Regions from separate parts of the Homo sapiens genome. Here regions 1, 2, 3, 5, 6 and 7 are each linked to region 4. Evidence: promoter capture Hi-C in 16 types of primary human blood cells and fetal thymus (Javierre and others, 2016). All regions are on one chromosome and are shown on one strand. Each heading gives the region's core, a stretch centred on a gene start or on the middle of the fragment in contact. The rest is flanking DNA. Distances are from core to core; before and after follow the strand shown.

The links. The method cuts DNA at HindIII sites, captures the fragments that hold promoters and counts their contacts. A CHiCAGO score of 5 or more calls a contact.
Region 1: a contact is called between a fragment that was not itself captured here and the fragment with the promoter of TRAPPC8 in region 4, in 1 of 17 cell types (fetal thymus). The highest score is 5.6, in fetal thymus.
Region 2: a contact is called between a fragment that was not itself captured here and the fragment with the promoter of TRAPPC8 in region 4, in 1 of 17 cell types (fetal thymus). The highest score is 5.8, in fetal thymus.
Region 3: a fragment that was not itself captured here is called in contact with the fragment with the promoter of TRAPPC8 in region 4 in 1 of 17 cell types (fetal thymus); the score reaches 5.8 in fetal thymus.
Region 5: a fragment that was not itself captured here is called in contact with the fragment with the promoter of TRAPPC8 in region 4 in 1 of 17 cell types (M1 macrophages); the score reaches 5.4 in M1 macrophages.
Region 6: a contact is called between a fragment that was not itself captured here and the fragment with the promoter of TRAPPC8 in region 4, in 1 of 17 cell types (fetal thymus). The highest score is 6.5, in fetal thymus.
Region 7: a fragment that was not itself captured here is called in contact with the fragment with the promoter of TRAPPC8 in region 4 in 3 of 17 cell types (fetal thymus, megakaryocytes and M0 macrophages); the score reaches 7.5 in fetal thymus.

What each region holds. Positions count from the first base shown.
Region 1 is chr18:31,527,778-31,530,899 of GRCh38, forward strand. The region is part of intron 8 of DSG2 (desmoglein 2); the gene reads left to right. Among named protein-coding and RNA genes, the nearest start is that of DSG2-AS1, 28 kb to the right of the region's middle. The HindIII fragment of the contact is 228 bases long and covers 1,685-1,912 here.
Region 2 is chr18:31,490,442-31,493,275 of GRCh38, forward strand. No RefSeq gene overlaps it. Among named protein-coding and RNA genes, the nearest start is that of DSG2, 6.3 kb to the right of the region's middle. The HindIII fragment of the contact is 2,426 bases long and covers 86-2,511 here.
Region 3 is chr18:31,595,399-31,598,435 of GRCh38, forward strand. The region is part of intron 3 of TTR (transthyretin); the gene reads left to right. It overlaps LOC124904277 (a long non-coding RNA gene), which reads right to left. Exons shown (of 2, transcript XR_007066326.1): 2 at 180-297. Among named protein-coding and RNA genes, the nearest start is that of TTR, 5.0 kb to the left of the region's middle. The HindIII fragment of the contact is 1,830 bases long and covers 627-2,456 here.
Region 4 is chr18:31,941,603-31,944,608 of GRCh38, forward strand. TRAPPC8 (trafficking protein particle complex subunit 8) reads right to left here and starts at 1,526. Exons shown (of 29, transcript NM_014939.5): 1 at 1,006-1,526. The coding sequence starts at 1,162. RefSeq lists enhancers at 421-1,199, 1,301-1,510 and a silencer at 1,131-1,250. The HindIII fragment of the contact is 12,839 bases long and covers 233-3,006 here.
Region 5 is chr18:31,645,716-31,648,717 of GRCh38, forward strand. The region is part of intron 3 of B4GALT6 (beta-1,4-galactosyltransferase 6); the gene reads right to left. Among named protein-coding and RNA genes, the nearest start is that of B4GALT6, 37 kb to the right of the region's middle. The HindIII fragment of the contact is 4,430 bases long and covers 1-3,002 here.
Region 6 is chr18:31,510,156-31,513,136 of GRCh38, forward strand. The region is part of intron 1 of DSG2 (desmoglein 2); the gene reads left to right. Among named protein-coding and RNA genes, the nearest start is that of DSG2, 13 kb to the left of the region's middle. RefSeq lists an enhancer at 1,099-1,168. The HindIII fragment of the contact is 1,831 bases long and covers 584-2,414 here.
Region 7 is chr18:31,568,587-31,571,516 of GRCh38, forward strand. No RefSeq gene overlaps it. Among named protein-coding and RNA genes, the nearest start is that of DSG2-AS1, 13 kb to the left of the region's middle. The HindIII fragment of the contact is 5,620 bases long and covers 1-2,930 here.

The sequences.
Region 1 (3,122 bases), core at 549-3,048, 410 kb before region 4:
AACAGAAATTTATTTCTCACAGTTCTGGAGGCTGGAAAGCCCAAGATCAAAGCAGATGCAGTGTCTGGGCAGGTCCCGCTTTCTGGCTTATACACAGTGCCTTCTTGTTGTATCATCACATAGTGGAACATCCAACAAGCTCCACTAGGCGTCTTTTGAAAGAGCATTGATCCCAGGATCTCCCAAAAGCCCCACTCTTAATATCATCACTTTGAGAGTCAGGATTTCAGCACGTGAGTTTTAAGGCGACACAAACATTCAGACAATAGCAATCAAAAAGATTGACAACACCAATTATTGGCAAAAATATAGAGAAACTGGATTGCTAGTGGAATTGTAACATGATGCAGGCAGTTTGACAGTTTCTTTTAAAAGTTACACAAGAGTAGTTATATGACCCAATGATTTGATTCTTAGGTTTCCACCCAAGAAAAATAAAAACAGGTCTATACAAAGACATGTATGCAAATGTTCATAGCAGCATTATTCATGATAATAAAAAAAACTAATAGCAGTCCAAATGTCCATCAGCTGGTGAGTAGATAAACAGAATGTGGTGTATTCATATGATGGAATACTAATGAGCAATAAAAAGGAATGAAGTACTGATACAAGCTACAACACGGATGAACCTCAAAAACATTATGCTATGGGCTGGGCACGGTGGCTCCCGCCTGTAATCCCAGCACTTTGGGAGGCCGAGGTTGGGGGATCACCTGAGCTCAGGAGTTTGAGACCAGCCTGGGCAACATGGTGAAACCCTGACTCTACTAAAACAAAAAATTAGCCAGGTTTGGTAGTGCATGCCTATAATTCCAGCTGCTTGGGAGGCTGAAGCAGGAGAATTGCCTGAACCCGGGAGGCAGAGGTTGCTGTGAGCCAGCATCACGTCACTTCATCCCAGCCTAAGAGACAGAGCAAGACTCCATCTCAAAAAAAAAAAAAAAAAAATTTGCTGATTATGCTATGTATAAGGAGCCAGACACAAAATAGTACATATTACATGATTCCATTTACTTGAAATTTCTAGAAAAGGTGAAACAATGGGGATAGAAAGCAGACTGGGATTGCTTGGAGTGGTGAGTCTGAGTGGGGACTGACTACAAACACATGTAAAGGAACTTTTGGGGGTGATGGAGTGTTCTAAAACTGGACCATAGTGATGATTGCAAATCCAGAACTCATCATGCTGTACACTTAAAATGGGCAAATTTTATTGTATATAAGTTATACCTGAATGAAGCTGTCCAAAAAGGATAAAGGAGATGAACGGATATTTTTAAATATGGAAATAGAGATAGTAAATAGTCACATGAGAAAAATTCACAGCTTTGTTAACAAATTAACAAATAAACTTACAATCTTTAATGTTATTAAAAAATAGCAAAAATGGAAATGATAAAATAAGTTTACAGAGTTGTAAAAAATAGAGGTCTATTCCCTCACACAGCGCTCTTGATACTGAAAATTTTCCATTTGCTTTGGAGCATTATGGCTATTTATGACTAACACTATGAAACACTTATGGCCCCAATACCTAGCTTTTATTTATTTATTTATTTTTTCATGGTCTTGGCCTTTGGATACTAATGACATCTGGCTGGAAGATTTTATTTCTCATCCGGCATATATCATGCCATCAAACAAGCATGTCAAGTGCAAGAGTGACTTAAATAAACTAACAAGCTTTCACAAAGATATTACAATCACAAAGGATGTATTTTCTCTAGTCTTTTTCTCCTGTGTCCTTGTCTCAACATCATAGTGATCCATATTTTTAAAGGGTGCAGAAGTTGTGATCCATCCAGAGCCCAATAGAGAGGAAAACTGACTGACTTATTTTGGTGAAAATAAGTAGTGGTAGCTCCAAAGGAAGGAAATTCACAATGAATTCTCCAAAACACAAGTGAAAAGCTTTGCTGTAATTCATGTAAACATGCCTAATATATTTAATTTTATACTGAAGAAACAAGCAAAAATGTTTAGTGCATCTAAATGGTCAGAGATACTGGAAATAAAAAGCAACAGGACCTAAGTAAACTTTAGGTAGTTCTTTTAGTAATAGGATATAGGTCAACAGAGGAAAAATAATGTGTATAAAAATGCTGAGAGCAGTATTAATTACATTTAGAAATTGTGATAGCCCAAATGCCTAATTATAGAATGACTGTCTATATCTAAGTAGTAGAATACTATGGAAATGTTTATAAAAAGAAACATTGAAAAGTTGGAACATAAAATATGTATACAGTAATGAACTGATTATTTCAAATGGAAATTGTGCTATTACAAAGAACTATTTGAAGAAAGGTTAATCTTTTATGGAATTAACAGCAAACCAGATATTAATAGGTATTATGCTAAAAAAGAGGAGAGTGGGGTTCTTTGTTTAAACAGATTTGAAAATCTCTAGGTTTCTTCTTTACTCCAGGAATTCAAGTATTTTAATATGCTAATGTGTAATATATAGCTATATTAGAGGGACAGAGCTCACAGAGCTACCACTACTTATTTTCACTAAAATAAACCCATAGAACACATTTTAAGGAATACTGATTTATACTGAATGCCCACTAATTTTTTACATTAGAAAAAAAATCACTTCAGATTGTTAAATATATATACACATATCTATAGATATGTGTGTGTGTATGTTTTGAGACAGGGTCTCACTTTATTGCCCAGGCTGAAGTGCAGTGGCATGATCATGGCTCACTGCAGCCTCAACCCTCTGGGCTCAAGCAATCCTCCCACCTCAGCCTCCTGAGTAGCTAGGACCACAGGCACGAGCTATCATGCACAGCTAATTTTTGTATTTTTTTGTACAGATGGGAACTCCCTATGTTGCCCAGGCTGGTCTCAAACTTCTGGGCTCAAGTGATCTACCTGCCTTGGCTTCCCAAAGTGCTGGGATTACAGGCATGAGCCACCATGCCTGAACAAAATATATATATATATTTACAGTAATTTCAACATTTAGGAAAATAAATTGGTAATACTTCCTAAACATCCTTAACATTTATGACTATCCAGATTGACAGAATTTTTATTTGCTTGGTGTCAGTATAAGAGTTGGACTATTCAGTGCTGCTATATTTCCTGTGCATTAAATTATTGTATCT
Region 2 (2,834 bases), core at 49-2,548, 450 kb before region 4:
TCTAATGTCTCAAATTCAACATGTTTTTACCAAAAGGAAAGTTTTTACTTCTGATTCCCTGTTTGTGTCAACATGATGAAAAGAAAGCTTTTTTCACAGCTAAAGCGAAAGCCCCTGACTCTTCATCAACAGTGTCTATGCTTTGAGTCACTCTGCCCTGGCAGGTTCAACACCTGGTTCACAATTACTCATCCTTTAAGAATCACTTCAGCAAACTTCCTCCAAGAAGCCTTTTCTAACCCCATAGTCCAAAGTGTGAGGTGGGAAACCTTCATTGTTCATATACTGCATGTGTAGTTCTACCACAGTGGTTATATTATTTTATTTTATAAGTAATTATAGTTATATTATTTTATAAGCACCTATTCTTGTTTCTTTCGATACAGGAAAACATTTAATTTTGCATTTCTAGTAAAATGAAAATTAAATGTTTGTTGAACAGGGACAAGGTAAATATTGAATAAACTAGTAGAACTAAACCAAAAAACAGATTCCTCCTCATATTTCCCTTCTCAGATTACCTGGGAGTATTTCACATTTTGTCCTGTGTCCATATGCCCTTTGCTAATCAACATTCTATGAGTAATCCTCCTGACCATGATAACCTTTTTTTATAACAGCTACACAACTCTATGATTTGTTTATAAAGCATTTTAAAAGGATAGCAACCAGATTTAGCTCTCACCTGTGAAACATTAATTCTAATACATATACTCATGAGATTTTCACTGGAATTAAGTGGTCAGCCACTTATCAGACCTTTAGCAAAGAACTGTCCATTTTTAAAATAATATTTAATGCTAGGATGTGTTGGCAGTAAGGAGCAGTGTTAGTAGAAAAGAGATATATTAATTTTCATTGATCTTTCTGAAACCCTTTAAAGTATTTTTGGTTTTAGATCATATTAAAGGGGTGATTTTAATGAGCTAATCACTTGAAGATTATTCTTATCTGTGTATGTGTGTGAAGCAAAGTATTCTGGAAAACATAAATTCAGGTAGATATTTTGAATATATCTAGATGTTAAAGGTAATTATTATCCACACAAAATATGTTTTGAACTAATCCATTCTAAATGTCTTAAGAAAAGTACATTTACCGTAATGTTCAACTAACTTGGGGGAGGAAAACATGAAAGTTAAAATTTTCACATCCTGTTAAGACTTCAATTTATTTTAAACAAATCCTTAGTCCTTTGTTGGTAATGGCTACATTTATTTTTGTGCACAGAGATGTATGAAACAGATTTACTCTAACCCCAGCATAAAGAAGTTAGGAGCCAGAGAGTTAGCTGTGAAACATCTGATTCTCAAGAAGTTCCTTCACCTCTCTGAGTCATAAGTTTTAGAATTTTTAAAGTAGAACTAATTCAGGAGTGACATGCTATGGCACTGGATGACATATTGGCACCTTCTCTCAAAGTCCTGGGGAAAATGTCTTATAGAAGGAATACTACCTTGAAACTAACTTTGATAGCCTTCAGGGGAGGTTGAATAATACAACAGAAATAAAGTTTGCATTGGCTATTTCTCATTCTGGAAGCTATGATTATCTTCATTGCTGAATAGAAACCAAAGACTTAATAATGAGGCATAAATACTTCTCTATAGGACTCAATTGCAAGGGCACAAATTTAAGGCAGGACTGACACATAGTTTCCTACAATGATTTCTGCAAGTGATTTGGTAAAGCCTCACTTCTTAAATCAGGAGTGCTCCCAGCATGATGGCAAACGAGAAGTATCCCCAAGGTGTGCTAATACCCACATCTAGCTCAAGAGAAAGGAGTGGAAATTAAGACATATTTCCTCCAGATTCAATGATGTAAAAAAGTTTACTGAGAGTATCCCATAGTACAGAGCACAGTTTGGGGCACTTCTGAGCACATTAATGAGCTAAGTCCTCAACTAATTCAGCCACCGTCACTTAAGTAACTGCATGAGAAAATCCACTCAGCAGCTAAGCCCCAAACATATGGAGAATGTGCTTCTCTCAGCTCAAATAGGCAGTGGTCCTTGGGGAACTGAGAAGAAAGAGTGTAATGAGGAGGTGGTGACTGTACTGGATCTTGAAGATTGGCACTTGGGAGAGAAGGGTGAGAGATGCTACCAGAGGGAGAGGGGGCATTTTGGACCACAGAAGGAACTCTACTATTTGAGCCAAATTTAATACCAAACCTCTCTTTCTAGTCTCCAAATAACCCTTTATGCTTATATAGGTGTGGAAAAAAAGTTAGATATTACATTTGAACTCAATTGAACATGGACACAAACAACGGTCACCAAGTCCCAGAACAGGTCATGTGAGCCCCTTGAGGAATTCATCCAGCACTGTTTCGAAGAAATCTCTATTTCAATCTACACCTATACGTTAGTTATTGAAAAACAACAGACAGTCGCAAAAACAAGTTGACCTTTTGTGTTATCTGAGCCCAGTCTCGAAGGGCCCTCGTGACTGGGCCTCATGCCGAACAACTGGTTACAAAAAGAGCTAGGGTCCCAGACTGCAACGAAGCTTCAAGAGACATCTTCTTGTCTGTGTACAGATGAGTGGCCGACTCTGGAGCCCAGGCTGTTGCTTCTCAGCCTGGTGATGAATCCTCCATAGTCTGAGGAGTGTGTATATGTGTGTGTGTGTGTGTGTGTGTGTGTGTGTGTGTATATATATATATATATACACACACATATACACACATATACATATATATCTTTTCCCTTCTCCCCTTCCCATTGCAATTTGCTTATTATATCAATTTTCTTATTATATCATTGACTTATTGTATCATTTGTTTATTATATCTGCATTGCCATTTACGTGGGATAAAGGTTGTTTACT
Region 3 (3,037 bases), core at 292-2,791, 350 kb before region 4:
AGAAAAAATTCACAACACTCTGAGAAGCAAATTTCTTTTTGACTTTGATGAAAATCCACTTAGTAACATGACTTGAACTTACATGAAACTACTCATAGTCTATTCATTCCACTTTATATGAATATTGATGTATCTGCTGTTGAAATAATAGTTTATGAGGCAGCCCTCCAGACCCCACGTAGAGTGTATGTAACAAGAGATGCACCATTTTATTTCTCGAAAACCCGTAACATTCTTCATTCCAAAACACATCTGGCTTCTCGGAGGTCTGGACAAGTGATTCTTGGCAACACATACCTATAGAGACAATAAAATCAAAGTAATAATGGCAACACAATAGATAACATTTACCAAGCATACACCATGTGGCAGACACAATTATAAGTGTTTTCCATATTTAACCTACTTAATCCTCAGGAATAAGCCACTGAGGTCAGTCCTATTATTATCCCCATCTTATAGATGAAGAAAATGAGGCACCAGGAAGTCAAATAACTTGTCAAAGGTCACAAGACTAGGAAATACACAAGTAGAAATGTTTACAATTAAGGCCCAGGCTGGGTTTGCCCTCAGTTCTGCTATGCCTCGCATTATGCCCCAGGAAACTTTTTCCCTTGTGAAAGCCAAGCTTAAAAAAAGAAAAGCCACATTTGTAACGTGCTCTGTTCCCCTGCCTATGGTGAGGATCTTCAAACAGTTATACATGGACCCAGTCCCCCTGCCTTCTCCTTAATTTCTTAAGTCATTTGAAACAGATGGCTGTCATGGAAATAGAATCCAGACATGTTGGTCAGAGTTAAAGATCAACTAATTCCATCAAAAATAGCTCGGCATGAAAGGGAACTATTCTCTGGCTTAGTCATGGATGAGACTTTCAATTGCTATAAAGTGGTTCCTTTATTAGACAATGTTACCAGGGAAACAACAGGGGTTTGTTTGACTTCTGGGGCCCACAAGTCAACAAGAGAGCCCCATCTACCAAGGAGCATGTCCCTGACTACCCCTCAGCCAGCAGCAAGACATGGACCCCAGTCAGGGCAGGAGCAGGGTTTCGGCGGCGCCCAGCACAAGACATTGCCCCTAGAGTCTCAGCCCCTACCCTCGAGTAATAGATCTGCCTACCTGAGACTGTTGTTTGCCCAAGAGCTGGGTCTCAGCCTGATGGGAACCATATAAAAAGGTTCACTGACATACTGCCCACATGTTGTTCTCTTTCATTAGATCTTAGCTTCCTTGTCTGCTCTTCATTCTTGCAGTATTCATTCAACAAACATTAAAAAAAAAAAAAAGCATTCTATGTGTGGAACACTCTGCTAGATGCTGTGGATTTAGAAATGAAAATACATCCCGACCCTTGGAATGGAAGGGAAAGGACTGAAGTAAGACAGATTAAGCAGGACCGTCAGCCCAGCTTGAAGCCCAGATAAATACGGAGAACAAGAGAGAGCGAGTAGTGAGAGATGAGTCCCAATGCCTCACTTTGGTGACGGGTGCGTGGTGGGCTTCATGCAGCTTCTTCTGATAAATGCCTCCTTCAGAACTGGTCAACTCTACCTTGGCCAGTGACCCAGGTGGTCATAGTAGATTTACCAAGGGAAAATGGAAACTTTTATTAGGAGCTCTTAGGCCTCTTCACTTCATGGATTTTTTTTTCCTTTTTTTTTGAGATGGAGTTTTGCCCTGTCACCCAGGCTGGAATGCAGTGGTGCAATCTCAGCTCACTGCAACCTCCGCCTCCCAGGTTCAAGCAATTCTCCTGCCTCAGCCTCCCGAGTAGCTGGGACTACAGGTGTGCGCCACCACACCAGGCTAATTTTTGTATTTTTTGTAAAGACAGGTTTTCACCACGTTGGCCAGGCTGGTCTGAACTCCAGACCTCAGGTGATTCACCTGTCTCAGCCTCCCAAAGTGCTGGGATTACAGGTGTGAGCCACCGTGCCCGGCTACTTCATGGATTTTTGATTACAGATTATGCCTCTTACAATTTTTAAGAAGAATCAAGTGGGCTGAAGGTCAATGTCACCATAAGACAAAAGACATTTTTATTAGTTGATTCTAGGGAATTGGCCTTAAGGGGAGCCCTTTCTTCCTAAGAGATTCTTAGGTGATTCTCACTTCCTCTTGCCCCAGTATTATTTTTGTTTTTGGTATGGCTCACTCAGATCCTTTTTTCCTCCTATCCCTAAGTAATCCGGGTTTCTTTTTCCCATATTTAGAACAAAATGTATTTATGCAGAGTGTGTCCAAACCTCAACCCAAGGCCTGTATACAAAATAAATCAAATTAAACACATCTTTACTGTCTTCTACCTCTTTCCTGACCTCAATATATCCCAACTTGCCTCACTCTGAGAACCAAGGCTGTCCCAGCACCTGAGTCGCAGATATTCTACTGATTTGACAGAACTGTGTGACTATCTGGAACAGCATTTTGATCCACAATTTGCCCAGTTACAAAGCTTAAATGAGCTCTAGTGCATGCATATATATTTCAAAATTCCACCATGATCTTCCACACTCTGTATTGTAAATAGAGCCCTGTAATGCTTTTACTTCGTATTTCATTGCTTGTTATACATAAAAATATACTTTTCTTCTTCATGTTAGAAAATGCAAAGAATAGGAGGGTGGGGGAATCTCTGGGCTTGGAGACAGGAGACTTGCCTTCCTACTATGGTTCCATCAGAATGTAGACTGGGACAATACAATAATTCAAGTCTGGTTTGCTCATCTGTAAATTGGGAAGAATGTTTCCAGCTCCAGAATGCTAAATCTCTAAGTCTGTGGTTGGCAGCCACTATTGCAGCAGCTCTTCAATGACTCAATGCAGTTTTGCATTCTCCCTACCTTTTTTTTCTAAAACCAATAAAATAGATACAGCCTTTAGGCTTTCTGGGATTTCCCTTAGTCAAGCTAGGGTCATCCTGACTTTCGGCGTGAATTTGCAAAACAAGACCTGACTCTGTACTCCTGCTCTAAGGACTGTGCATGGTTCCAAAGGCTTAGCTTGCCAGCATATTTGAGCTTTTTCCTTCTGT
Region 4 (3,006 bases), core at 276-2,775:
CGCTAAAAACAAAAGCTAATTTATAATGGAACTATTCTCCCAAAAAACATGGTAGCGCAAAAATGGTACAGCACTGATTTTTTTTGTGGATAAGTCATATTAAGCTAACAAACATCACAGTCGTTTGCCTGACACAGGCTTATTATGAAACCCTTCAGTTCTTACCGACCTTAACAAAAAAAACTTTACTTGGACTTTGTTGTTTGCAAGATATTGGCTAAAACATGCTTGAAGCTTTACCACATTATTTTCTCCTAATAAAAAAATCCAAAACTGGAGAAAACGGGTAGCTTCTTAACAAGACATTCATTAACAAGAGAAGACATTTCCATCCCTATAACTATAGATAACTCCAAATATCCAGGTTAAATTAACCACAACTTGGGCTTGCTTCCTCTTCCTTAGGGCAAAAAGCTGCTTCAAGTTTTATTCTTCTTATAATACTTTTAATTTTCTTGAGAGGTTAAGCAAAATACCGTATAGCTAAGAATATATTAGTAAAACAGCTACACGGTAGTTCAGACAGAGATGACCCTCAACGCTACAAGAATGTAATAACATCCACAACTACTTTCAAAGTCCAGTTTAACATCCAAGGGAGGATGACAGGTCTTCCTTACTCAGACCCTGTCGGTCTAAGAGGCAGCATTTTCCTACCTTAGCTGCTTTGCAAGTGCCTAATTCCTTCGCTATGGCCGTGGAGAACAGTCTCAATGCCGTTCTCGAAGACTCACGTTTATCTTTGCACCAATTACTTAACGACCTAGGTTGTCCGAGGAAGAAAGGAAGTGCCCAGAGAAACTGGAGCTTAGGACTGCGCTGTCTTGACAACCTCACGGTCCCTCCTCCAGCCGCCCCCGGAGCACCGCGGGGCCACAGCCCCAGACGCCACGGTACCGGCTCCAGGACGTAAACACTGCCCTTCTCTTCCCTGCCCGCCCGCAACTTCCTTCTCCCGACCACGGCTTTGCGGGAGCCCACTGGAAAAGGGAGGATACCACATACCCTCGGAAGTGAGGCGGGAGAAGGGCTTAAGCAGCTCCGCGAAGCTGAGGTGATTGAGACGAGTGAGCCGCTCGGCTTCGTCGCTGCACAGCGCAGCGACACAGGGGACGAAGGAGTCCGGGATTAGCTCCTGCACTGATTGTACACACTGGGCCATCGCCGCAGCACAGGCAGCGGCGGCGCCCGCCCTCCGGCCCACCCTGCGAGGTTATCCTGCGGCTGCAGCAGCTACCGCCGCCGCCCGCCGGCCTGGCCCGGCCGGGCGGGGCCCCGAACGCACTGGAGCCTAGAAACAAGAAGGAACAGACGCCGCCGCTTCGGTTTCTGGGGCACAATCCACTGACCCCCCCCTTCCCGTCACCGCCGCTTCTCAGCGCTCGTCCCCGCGTGCTCGCATTCCACCCCGATAGGTGGAGACGCCGACAGTCACCACTTAGTCCTTCGGACGGCAAAACCTTGGTCACTGCCCGGCCGGAACCGCCATGTTGAGGCCGAACCCTGACCAACCGGCAGTACTACTCCCAGCTGCCCCCGCGCGCGTCCCTCACGTGACTGTGTTAAAGGAGACGGTAGGGGCAAGGGAAGAGAGCTGAGGAGAGGGAAGTGAAAAACGACGGAGGCCGGTTGGGAGGCTGGAGCCGGAAGTGTTGTGACGGAAGCTCCCTGGGCGGGGCGGGGCTACAAGTGCGGTGGGCGGGGGCGGGGGCGGGGGCGGGGGCGGGGGGAGGTGCACAACTGTAGGCCGGGTTCTCAAGCTCGCCCTTAGCAGAGCAGAGCTGAGAGCCACCTACTAGCGGCAGGTGGAGCCTCGAGACGGGTGCTGTCGTGGTGATGGAGGCGCACGCTCGCTTCCCACGCAGTTTGGCCTTTTTGACGTCCCTGGCTGTTGTGGGCAACCGATTTGGTTGGTCGCGCTGCTTCCTACGCTCGCCGGCGGAGCAGCTAGTGGCACCTGCTCGGAGAGAGGGAGTGGATCTCTCGGAAGTGCTTGGGGTTTCGCTGAAGCGGACCTGAACAGACCATGTGTCCTTTAAATACAGCCATGCTTTTAGAAACGGACTGTCACTTTATGTGGACTCAACCATTGAACAGAATGTGTGCTTTTGTGAGTGCTGCAATTCCTTCAAGTGTAATTGCGCTACTGCATTTTTGTTGGTCGCAGGGAAGGGGTGTGCCTGCAAATGTCCGCGTGGTTCGTCCTCAGCCTCTTCCTTTTTACACTGTGCTAGGATGTTTACTTGCTTGTGGTGGAGGTAGGGGAAGCCAGTATTTGTGTACTGTGTACTGTCCTGAACCGGCTTTCATTCCTAACTTTTCAAAGATTGCTTTAAAGGGGGGGGGGCGCGGGTCAAATATTGTTTTAAAGGGGGGGACGGGGTGAGGTCAATGGTGTGTGCCTTGTAAGTAGAAATGAATGAAAGGAATTTTACTAATGTGTCACTCAATTGTTTGAGCTCCTTCTGTTTTGCATGCCAAAAATATAAGGCAAGGAAAAATGTATCATTCTATCATGATTTTATGGTGCTCTAATTAAAGGTGTCTTCCCCAACGTCAATGTCTCAAATTTTTCGACTTCTTGACACCCTCAGGTTTTCACTAAGGTAATAATTTATGACAAGTAAGATGTGTGCTTCTCATGTAAGTTGATAAATGGGAGGTAGGAAGGCACAGTAGGACATATTGATGACATGCCTTGGCTACAGATTAATTTATAAGAGAGTCCATCACTTTAGGAGATTTATTTGCCGAAGTTAAGTACGAGCCCAGGAAACAGGTCTATGCCTTTCTTCGAAGATGATTTTGAGTGCTCCAAATTTAAAGGGGAAAGGGCGGGATATTGAGAAGCACACCGTTTTCATGTAAGGGGGCGGTAGGAGAAAATAGTAATTCTTGCCTTTCTCTGGCTCAGTGAATCTGCATTTTTTACATAAGATGACATAAAATGGGCAGAGGAAGAATGTGGGAGTCTGCATTTTTCATAAGATAACAGACAAAATGGGG
Region 5 (3,002 bases), core at 37-2,536, 300 kb before region 4:
AAAACCGTTTTGCTTTTGGGTAATATATTGAATAATTTAGTATTATTTGGAAAATGTTTGCATGTCATTATAACTTAACACTGCAATTTAACAACTATTCAAATATTTTAATACCATTTTTAATTTTAACATTTTCAACACAGGGGACACAATGGCACAGTACTTAACAATGAAATAAGCAGTCAGATTGACTGGGAACTGATTCCTAGCTTCTGTCTATTGGGAAAATGATTTAACCTCTCTGTGCCTCAGCCTCCTCCTCTGTAAAAAGGACAGTGATGTCTGCCTCCCAAGGTGGTTGTATCCATTCCAAGAAATCATCTGTGTGAAGGATCATATGCCGTGTCAGGCATTAGGTACAACCAACAAATGTTAGCTACTATTACTGTTACCTACTGACATTTCTTAAGAGAGGGAATTTGCAAACATAATTCAAAGTACTGATTCTGAGCACTTACCATATATCAGGCCCCTTGGCATACAAAACTGAAAAACCACTTCTGAGGTATTCCTGGTCTAACAGGCACTCATTCTCCAAATTAACAAATATATGACATTACTGGAGGTGTTCTTACTAGTAGCTTTTCTAATGTATACCATTGAAACAGGAATGAATCTTGAATGGAAAACCACTTCCGTTAACCCCAAAAGAGAACTAAGAATCAAGAAGCCTCTTTATCTCCCCCTGAATTAAAATAGCTGCATGATCACTAACATCCCTTCAAAGCAATGCTATCTTCAATGACTTCACTGTTAGAACAGGATGTAAAAGGCTATTGAAACTACAGATCATCTTTTAGCAGTTTTAATGTCATCCGTTAACTTCCAAATAGGTACAAATTGCTCTGGAGCGCCCTCCAGCCAAATTCTTCTCTCTGACCTCATCTCATAAAATACAAACCAACAAATGTTGAGGTTTCCCATTTCGAGTCTTCTGAGTTTCATGTGGCCACAATTTCATATAAAAACACTCAGTTCCTCTCTAGAGAGCCTCTTTGCTCCTGCTATTCTATATTTTAGGAGTTTTCACAATGGCCTCTCTTCCTGTCCCCACTTCATCCTAACCAGGCAGAGCTGTCTGTAGCCTCCACGCAGGCATGCTAGAGTATTTTACATCGAAATACCTGCTTCCCAGAATAAGTTAGAAAAAGAATTGCAATCTTCTAATGCCTGCCTGTTCTACTGACAACATAAGCAGTCTTTTATAACCAAACACTCAGCCTTCAGCGTGACAAGATACACAAACTAGCTAATCTTAGAAAGGTCAGATTCATCTAAAAGAAAGAGAAACCTATGAACTTGCAGAGAAAGAGTAAGTAAAATGTAAGATTGATCAGTAAACATAAGTACAGACTATCATGACTCAGCTGACAAAGAACAGAATCTAACATTGTAATCAAATAAAATTTACACAAATAAATCTGATACATTTAATAGTATGCATGATTGCTAAAATGATAGTAATTAGGCTAAATAATAAGCAGTTCATATAAGTAACTGAAGCTGGTATTCTTTCTGCACTGTTAAACCACATTTTTTGTCTTTTTTCCAGCTTTATTGCTTCAACAGCTGTAATCATCATTATTGTCAGCAGTTTTCTCCAGCATCATTTGCAGTTTAATTTCCATCTCCAACGCATATGTGCTGGCAAGAGACAGGCTTTATTTCTTTCCCTCAATAGAGAGGGCTTCCTCTGTCCATCACTATCCCCATGCCTGAGGTATCCTAAGTTCACACTCCTCGGGGTTGTGCACCTCCCCCACCCCATCCACACCCCTCAGAGTCCATCAGGAGCTTTCCTATGTGCTTGTTGCCCTTTGCTCTGAAATCCTAGTAATTTGCTCATTGAAGGCTAAAGATTGACCTGGTGGCATGCTACCCATGATAAGAGCAACATCGCTATACTGGGGAGTGTAGGGGACAGGCCTCCCAGGACAAGTATTGCCACCACTGGGAACAGCGAAAGTGTGATCAGAGAGAGGAAGAACAAACATTCATCATTGTGGGGAGTGGTATTAGGGAGAAGATCCTGTACATAGGAAGGGAAGGGAAAAGGTCATGTTATAAAAAGAGTGGCCAGGAAGAAGTATGCTGCAGATAAACTAATGATGGTGTGGTTTCCAAACCGTCCTTGGGAAGGACCTCTCTCAGGGATCCTGTGGTTGGAGAAGGGAGGACTCAGGCTCCCCCAACACAGCCACTTTCATCTCTTTCGCGTACTCTTTTGTCCCCTTTAGGTTTCACTCAAGAAAGCCTTCCACTGCTTTAAAAACAAAACAAAAGGCATCGGAAAACCACCTGCTATGAATGAAGCTAGAGAGGGAATGTCCTTCTTGTAAAGAAGGACACCATCAACTGGGCCAGTCCCCTTTATTTCACTCGCTGAGATTTCAAGGGCAACTGAAGAGATCCACTGAACTCCATGGAGAGCCAATCTTCACTCTCCTCTGTGGTGAATCTGAGATTGGTTGTTGTTGTTCTTAATCCCAGATGTAATAGTATAAATCTAAGATTTTTAACTGGCACAAGTGGTTTCTTTCCCAGTTAGAGATTTAAAGATCAGAAAATAAATATGTTGACTGAAATCCATTTACCCAGCAGTGTAATCACAATCAGCAAATGTAAATAATATAATTTACCAAATACTGAATTTCACTATTTTGAAGGTGGCGCTGGGGTTAGAAAGGAAAGAGCAGGAGAACTGAGTGTCTGAAGAGTGGAGGGGCTGCCAAGTACCTAGAAGGTCAAGGTGAAGGACAGGGAACTCAAGTCAGCTGGAAGCTACCTTCCAGTCGTGTGTGCCAAACTGCTTCTATCATGTGTGAGGGTAACTTAGTTGCACCATTGGTTATGTAGGACATTTACTATATCCTAATGCTGAATTTGCAAGATATGCAGCAATGCTGCCCATCTGGGAAAGCCAGGCATGCATGGGCCCAAACAACAGGCTTATTGTGCTATGGATGATAATGTATCACATGACATGATTTAGGATTTTACTT
Region 6 (2,981 bases), core at 249-2,748, 430 kb before region 4:
TGCCACGTCCTCTGTGTTTGAGTTCTAAAGATAGTCCGTTGAGCACACTGCTTACCTTCTAGTAATTTCTCGCTGAATGGACATTAGAAGCCATTATAGTGACTGAAAGTTGAAATAATGTTTTAAACTAATTTGTATTTCTCTACATCCATTTTTAATAAGGTATCTCTTAGTCTGATCTATTAAAGTTTAAGGGATCACCTCACCATAAAACCACTGAACACTTCAAGATTCTCTACTTTAAAGGAAAGACTTCTGACAGAGAACCTGTCAGCCAGGAGGAGCTGTCATCCAGTGACTCATGAGTCCTTCTGGATTCTTGTTTAAACTCATCAAGGTGACTTCAGAACAGAAAGTCTTTTCTAAAAGTGCTGACCTTGAAAACAAAGAGTACATTGATTGATGGTGTTTGGTATTCCCTCATGCCTCTGCAGGAAAAAAAAAAAAATCTTTTGCCAGATACCAGGAAGTCCAGTTTTTATAAGATGTGCAGGATCCAATGGTAGAAAAATTTTTTACATGTTTTTCAAAGCAGCAAAACTAGTTAATAAAATACTTTTTTTAGAGTTTAGCAAATTAGAAAAGCTTTTGCAGAATTTTTTGGTTCATCTGAAAACACTGCTTTGGATACAGGAACTAGCAGCTTACTTTTCCTCGTCAGTCTTAAAGTCATGTTGCAGGTGACATTTTTCTGTCACCAAGTTCCTGGTGAGAAAAAAAGTCACAGATTTAGTGTTTGGAGGAAACCTTATTGGCCATTTTGTCCAGCCACCCCTCCCATGCTTGAAACCTCTTCACAGCATCCCCACAGGAGGTGACTCAAACTTACAGAGTGGACAGGTTTTTTAAAAAGTGCCAGGGAGTGGGAATGGAGGACTAAGGCAGAGAGTTTCTGCTTGTTCCAGTCATGTTACTTGCAGTATACTACCCACTAGAGATGTACAGAATCTCCACAGTCCTCTGCAGCTTGTATTACTGTCCTGACCCTGGTTATTACAGTAGCTTCCAATCAGAGAAACGCAGCCATGGTGTCTTAACCTCGGCACTTGGCCAGTTGCAGCCAGATAACACTTAGTTGTAAGGGCTATCATGTGCATTGTAGGATGTTTGACAGCATCTCTGGTTTCTACCCACTAGATGCCACTGGCATTTATCTCCCCTACCTCGAGCCCCACCCTGGTTTGACAACCAGAAACGTCTCCAGACATTACCAAATATCCCCAGTGGCAGGAGGAGCGGGGCAGGGCAAAACTGCCCCTAGTGGAGAACGATTGGTCTAAATTAAGAATGTGTTCTGTGAGATAGAGGATCTTAAGGAACCAGATCCAAATTATTTAGAAAGCAGTGGCTGAGATCTTAACTGCTCAGTCAAATAAACAGACAGTTCCACAATTGACAAAATGTTAGTGCAGTTCTTTTTTCTTTTTTTGTACAATGAATGAAGCAAATATTTCAGTCCATAACACCTTACTAAAAGCATGCTACTGCAATACGTGCTATAAAAATGCAGATAGCAGAACCCTCTTACCTAGATTCCAAGACAACCTTGACTTTAAGATGCACATCAATTCTTCTGATGTTTTAGTGTAACATACATCCAGAAAAGTGCACATATCACGAGTGCACTGAATCTTCACAAACTGAAAACACCATGTCACCAGTAACGAGGTGAAGAAACAGATTGCCAGCATCCCAGAAGGCCCCTTGTGCTCCCTTCAGTCCCTACGATCCCCCTGATAGCCGCTGTCCCAATTCACAGCAGATTAGCCTTGCCTGTGTCACGCTGGCTCCCTAGATGCTCAGCAATTTAATACCAGCCTTTTGAGAGAAGAAAAGAAACATTACATTAAAGATGTACAAAACCTCTAATATGCATCCCAGTTCCTTAACTAAAACCGACTGATGACTCCCAAATTTTTATCTCCGGGCATAACTTCTTTTCTGAGCTACTAACTCCTATATCCAAAAGGCCATTCACACAGAACACATAAAAACGGCTCTTACCTCCCATTTCACCCCTCCCTCAACACCACCCCTGTCTCCTGCCTCACCTTCAGCTTACCCCATCCCTCTCCCCATTCTGTCTCATCTCTGGAAATGGTGCCTTCACTCACCCAGGTGTTCCGGGTCAAAATTCTAAGGGTCATCTATATTTGCCCTCATTCATTCCATTCACAGGTCTCTGTTGCCTCTGCCTTCAAAATAAACACTGGAGATATCTACTTTCTTTCATCTTTACTGCAACTCCCAGGGTTTAAGCTAGTGTTATGTATTGCACGTGCTTCTGCAATGATGCAATGACTACAGTCTGGTCTCTATACATTTGTTCTTGCCACTTTATGGCCTGTTCTCCATACAGTAGCACCAGCGAGCTTTTTCAAACATAAACTGGTTGTATCATTTCCAAACATAAAAGCTTCCAGTGGCTTCCTCTCACACTCAGGATAAAACCCAAAGTCCTCTCCCTGACTGGGTACTGGCCTATCCCTGTGACATCATCATCACTGATTCACCACCGCATGGCCTGGGCGTTCCTTTTGCAGGGCTCTGCCTGACTGGCTTCCTCATACCATTCACGTCTCTGTGCAGATGCAGCCCCTTCTGAGAGTTTTCCCACACTTCCAAGTCACTCTCTACTATCCTGACCCTGCTTTAATTTTTTTTATTGCTCTTATCAAAACCTGGTCTGTCTTTGTCTCCCCAGTATGTAAGCATCCAACAGGGTAAGAATATTGTGTTACTTAACATATCCTACAAGCTCAGGAAATTGAGGGTATGAATTAATTCAAACTTGCAGAAATTTTAAGATAAGGACCATGCAAAACTTAGAATTGAGGAAATGTCTCATAAATTCTGTTTATTGAATGCCAGTCACTGCAATAGTTACATTTCATATATTTCTTTAATTTGCACATCAGCCCTGCAAAATGGATGTATCCTAGTTAGGTGGCTTTCAGATGCAAGTAACAAAACCCAACTAA
Region 7 (2,930 bases), core at 297-2,796, 370 kb before region 4:
CTGCACACACCAGCTCCCCTTCACCTTCTGCCATGAGTGGAAGCAGCCTGAGGCCCTCACCAGAACCAGATGCTGGCACCGTGCTTCTTATGCAGCCTACAGAACTATGAGCCAAATAAACCTCTTTTCTATATAAATTACCCGGTTTCAGGTATTCCTTTATGGCAACACAAAATGGAGTAGGACACCTAGACATCCAGGTTTATAAATGTAGACACATATATACGTGCATTTTCACACATAGCTTGTTAGAATGTGTGTGTCGCTGGGGCTCTTTTATCTATACACTTGGAAAAAGGCGTCTGCTTCATTTTATTTTTGCCTTTGCTCACCTCGGCTCCTTTATTTCTGATACTAGCAACTCAAGAAAGGGGCATTTTAATTCAATCAACCAAGAAAATCAATCCCAATTGACCTCGGGACCATATTTTTATTTTCATTGAAAGTTAACTAAAATTATTGAAAAGAATGAAAAATAATAAGAAACAGAAAAACCTAATAGCTTGGAACAACATGTATTCGCTAATTTTGTTTACTAATACCTCCATCCAGGGGAGTTATTTCTAGCAAGATTCTTTTTTATTTTTATTTTTATTTTTTTTTTTTTTGAGCGGAATCTCACTCAGTCATCCAAGCTAGAGTGCAGTGGTGCCATCTCAGCCCACTGCAACCTCTGCCTCCCAGGTTCCAGTGATTCTCCTGCCTCAGCCTCCTGGGTAGCTGGGATTACAGGCACATACCACCATGCCCGGTTAATTTTTTGTATTTTTAGTAGAAACGGGGTTTCACCACGTTGGCCAGGCTGGTCTCGAACTCCTGACCTCAAACAATCTGCCCACCTCGGTCTCCCAAAGTATTGGGATTACAGGCGTGAGCCACCATGCCTGGCCTGCAAGATCCTTTTTTATTGAGGCAATTAAAAGTTAGAAGAGAAGAAATGGCTGTGTAAAAATAGGAGCAGATAGAAAATGAGAATGGCCGGGTGCAGTGGTTCATGCCCACAATCCCAACTCTTTGGGAGGCCAAGGCTGGTGGATCACCTGAGGTCAGGAGTTCAAGACCAGCCTGCCCAACATGGCAAAACCCTGACTCTACTAAAAATACAAAAAATTAGCTGGGTGTGGTGGTGGGCACCTGTAATCCCAGCTACTCAGGAGGCTGAGGCAGGAGAATCGCTTGAACCCGGGAGGCAGAGGTTGCAGTGAGCCAAGATCACGCCTAGGAGTGCAAAAAAAAAAAGAAGAAAAGAAAAGAAAATGATAATCTTACCATCTCAGCCCTCAAGTAAAAGTAAAGGGCAGGGCTAAGTCAGCAGAATGATCAGGAAACTGATTCCACAGCCCTATTGCCTAAATAGGGAGGGACAAACAAGATTCAGGCATTTCCCTCTTGGTCTACATGTGGATTAGGTCCCCCACCAGTAAAAACTCCTCCCTAATAGTTCTCACAGTTGTTCACCTAAACCTGAGCAGTGCTCTGGGGTGCATTAGCTGGTGAGAAGCTCTCCTTGCTTGAGCCAGTTTTAGGAGAAGGAACAGTGGGATTGAAAGTCACTAGGGAGCTAGCCTATGGCCAAGTGCTATGAATGGCCTGCCATGTTCCAGAAACCCCCATGTGAGATCTTTCTCTGGGTTAAAGCTCCATGGTTGCTAATTGCTGTGAGAGTGATAGAGTCCCCTAAGTCTAATCAAGCCTGGAAGCTGAAGGACATTGTGTGGACTTGGGCCTTGAGAGGTTCCCGAACTCCAGAATTCTGCAAGTTATATGACTTTCATTTAAATTTTCTTTTTAATTGAGAAGGAGTCTCACTCAGCCACCCAGGGTGGGGTGCAGTGGCTTGATCACAGCTCACTGCAGACTCACACTCCTGAGCTCAAGCAATCCTCCTGCCTCAGCCTCCTAAGTAGCTGGGACTATGGGATATGCCACTATGCCCAGCTAATTATTTTTTGGTAGAGATGAGGTCTCACTACACTGCCCAGGCTGGTCTTGAACTCCTAGCCTTAAGCGATCCTCCTGCCTTGGCCTCCCAAAGTGCCGGGATTACAAGCATAAGCCACCATGCCTGCAGTTATATGACAATGATTGTTTCTCTTTAAACGAGGAAGCATTAGCTCAGAGAAATGAGAAATCTCTGTATGTAGTAGATGATGCAAACCATGCTAAAATAAACACATATAATTGGAGAAGCTAAGATCATTCTTAAAGCTAGGTCAGTCATTCCAGCTGCCAATCAAAACCTGCACACAAAAACCTGGACATAAGTATTTATAGTAGCTTTATTTATTTATAATTTGGCATAGTTGATGCCAAAACTTGGAAGCAATCAAGTTGCCCTTCAATAGGTGAGTGGATAAACAAATTGTAGTGCATCCACACAACAAAATACGATTCAACGATAAAAAGAAATGAGGTATCAGGCCATGAAAAGACATGAAGAAATTTTAAATGCGTATTACTAAGTGAAAGAAGCCAATCTGAAAAGGCTACATACTATATGATTCCAACTATCTGACATTCTGGAAAATGCAAAACCATGGAGACAGTCAAAAGACCAGTGGTTGCCAGGGGTTGCAGGGGAGGTAGGGAAAGAGAGGGGGATAACTAGGCGGAATACAGGGGGATTTTAGGGCAGTGAAACTATTCCATATGATACGGTGATGGCGGATATGTGTTATCATACAATTGTCAAAACCTCATTCAACACAAAGTGGATCCTAATGTAAACTATGGACTTCAGTTGAGAATAATGCATCAATATTGGCTATCAGTTACAACAAATGCACCGCACCGATGCAAGAAGTTTATCATTGGGGAAGCTGTCAGGTGGAAGATTTGAGGAGATACAAGGATAAAGGGGATAAATAGTATATAGGAGACAAAGAACAAGACTTGGCTGAAAGAAGGCAACATATTAGAAAGAGGTTTTA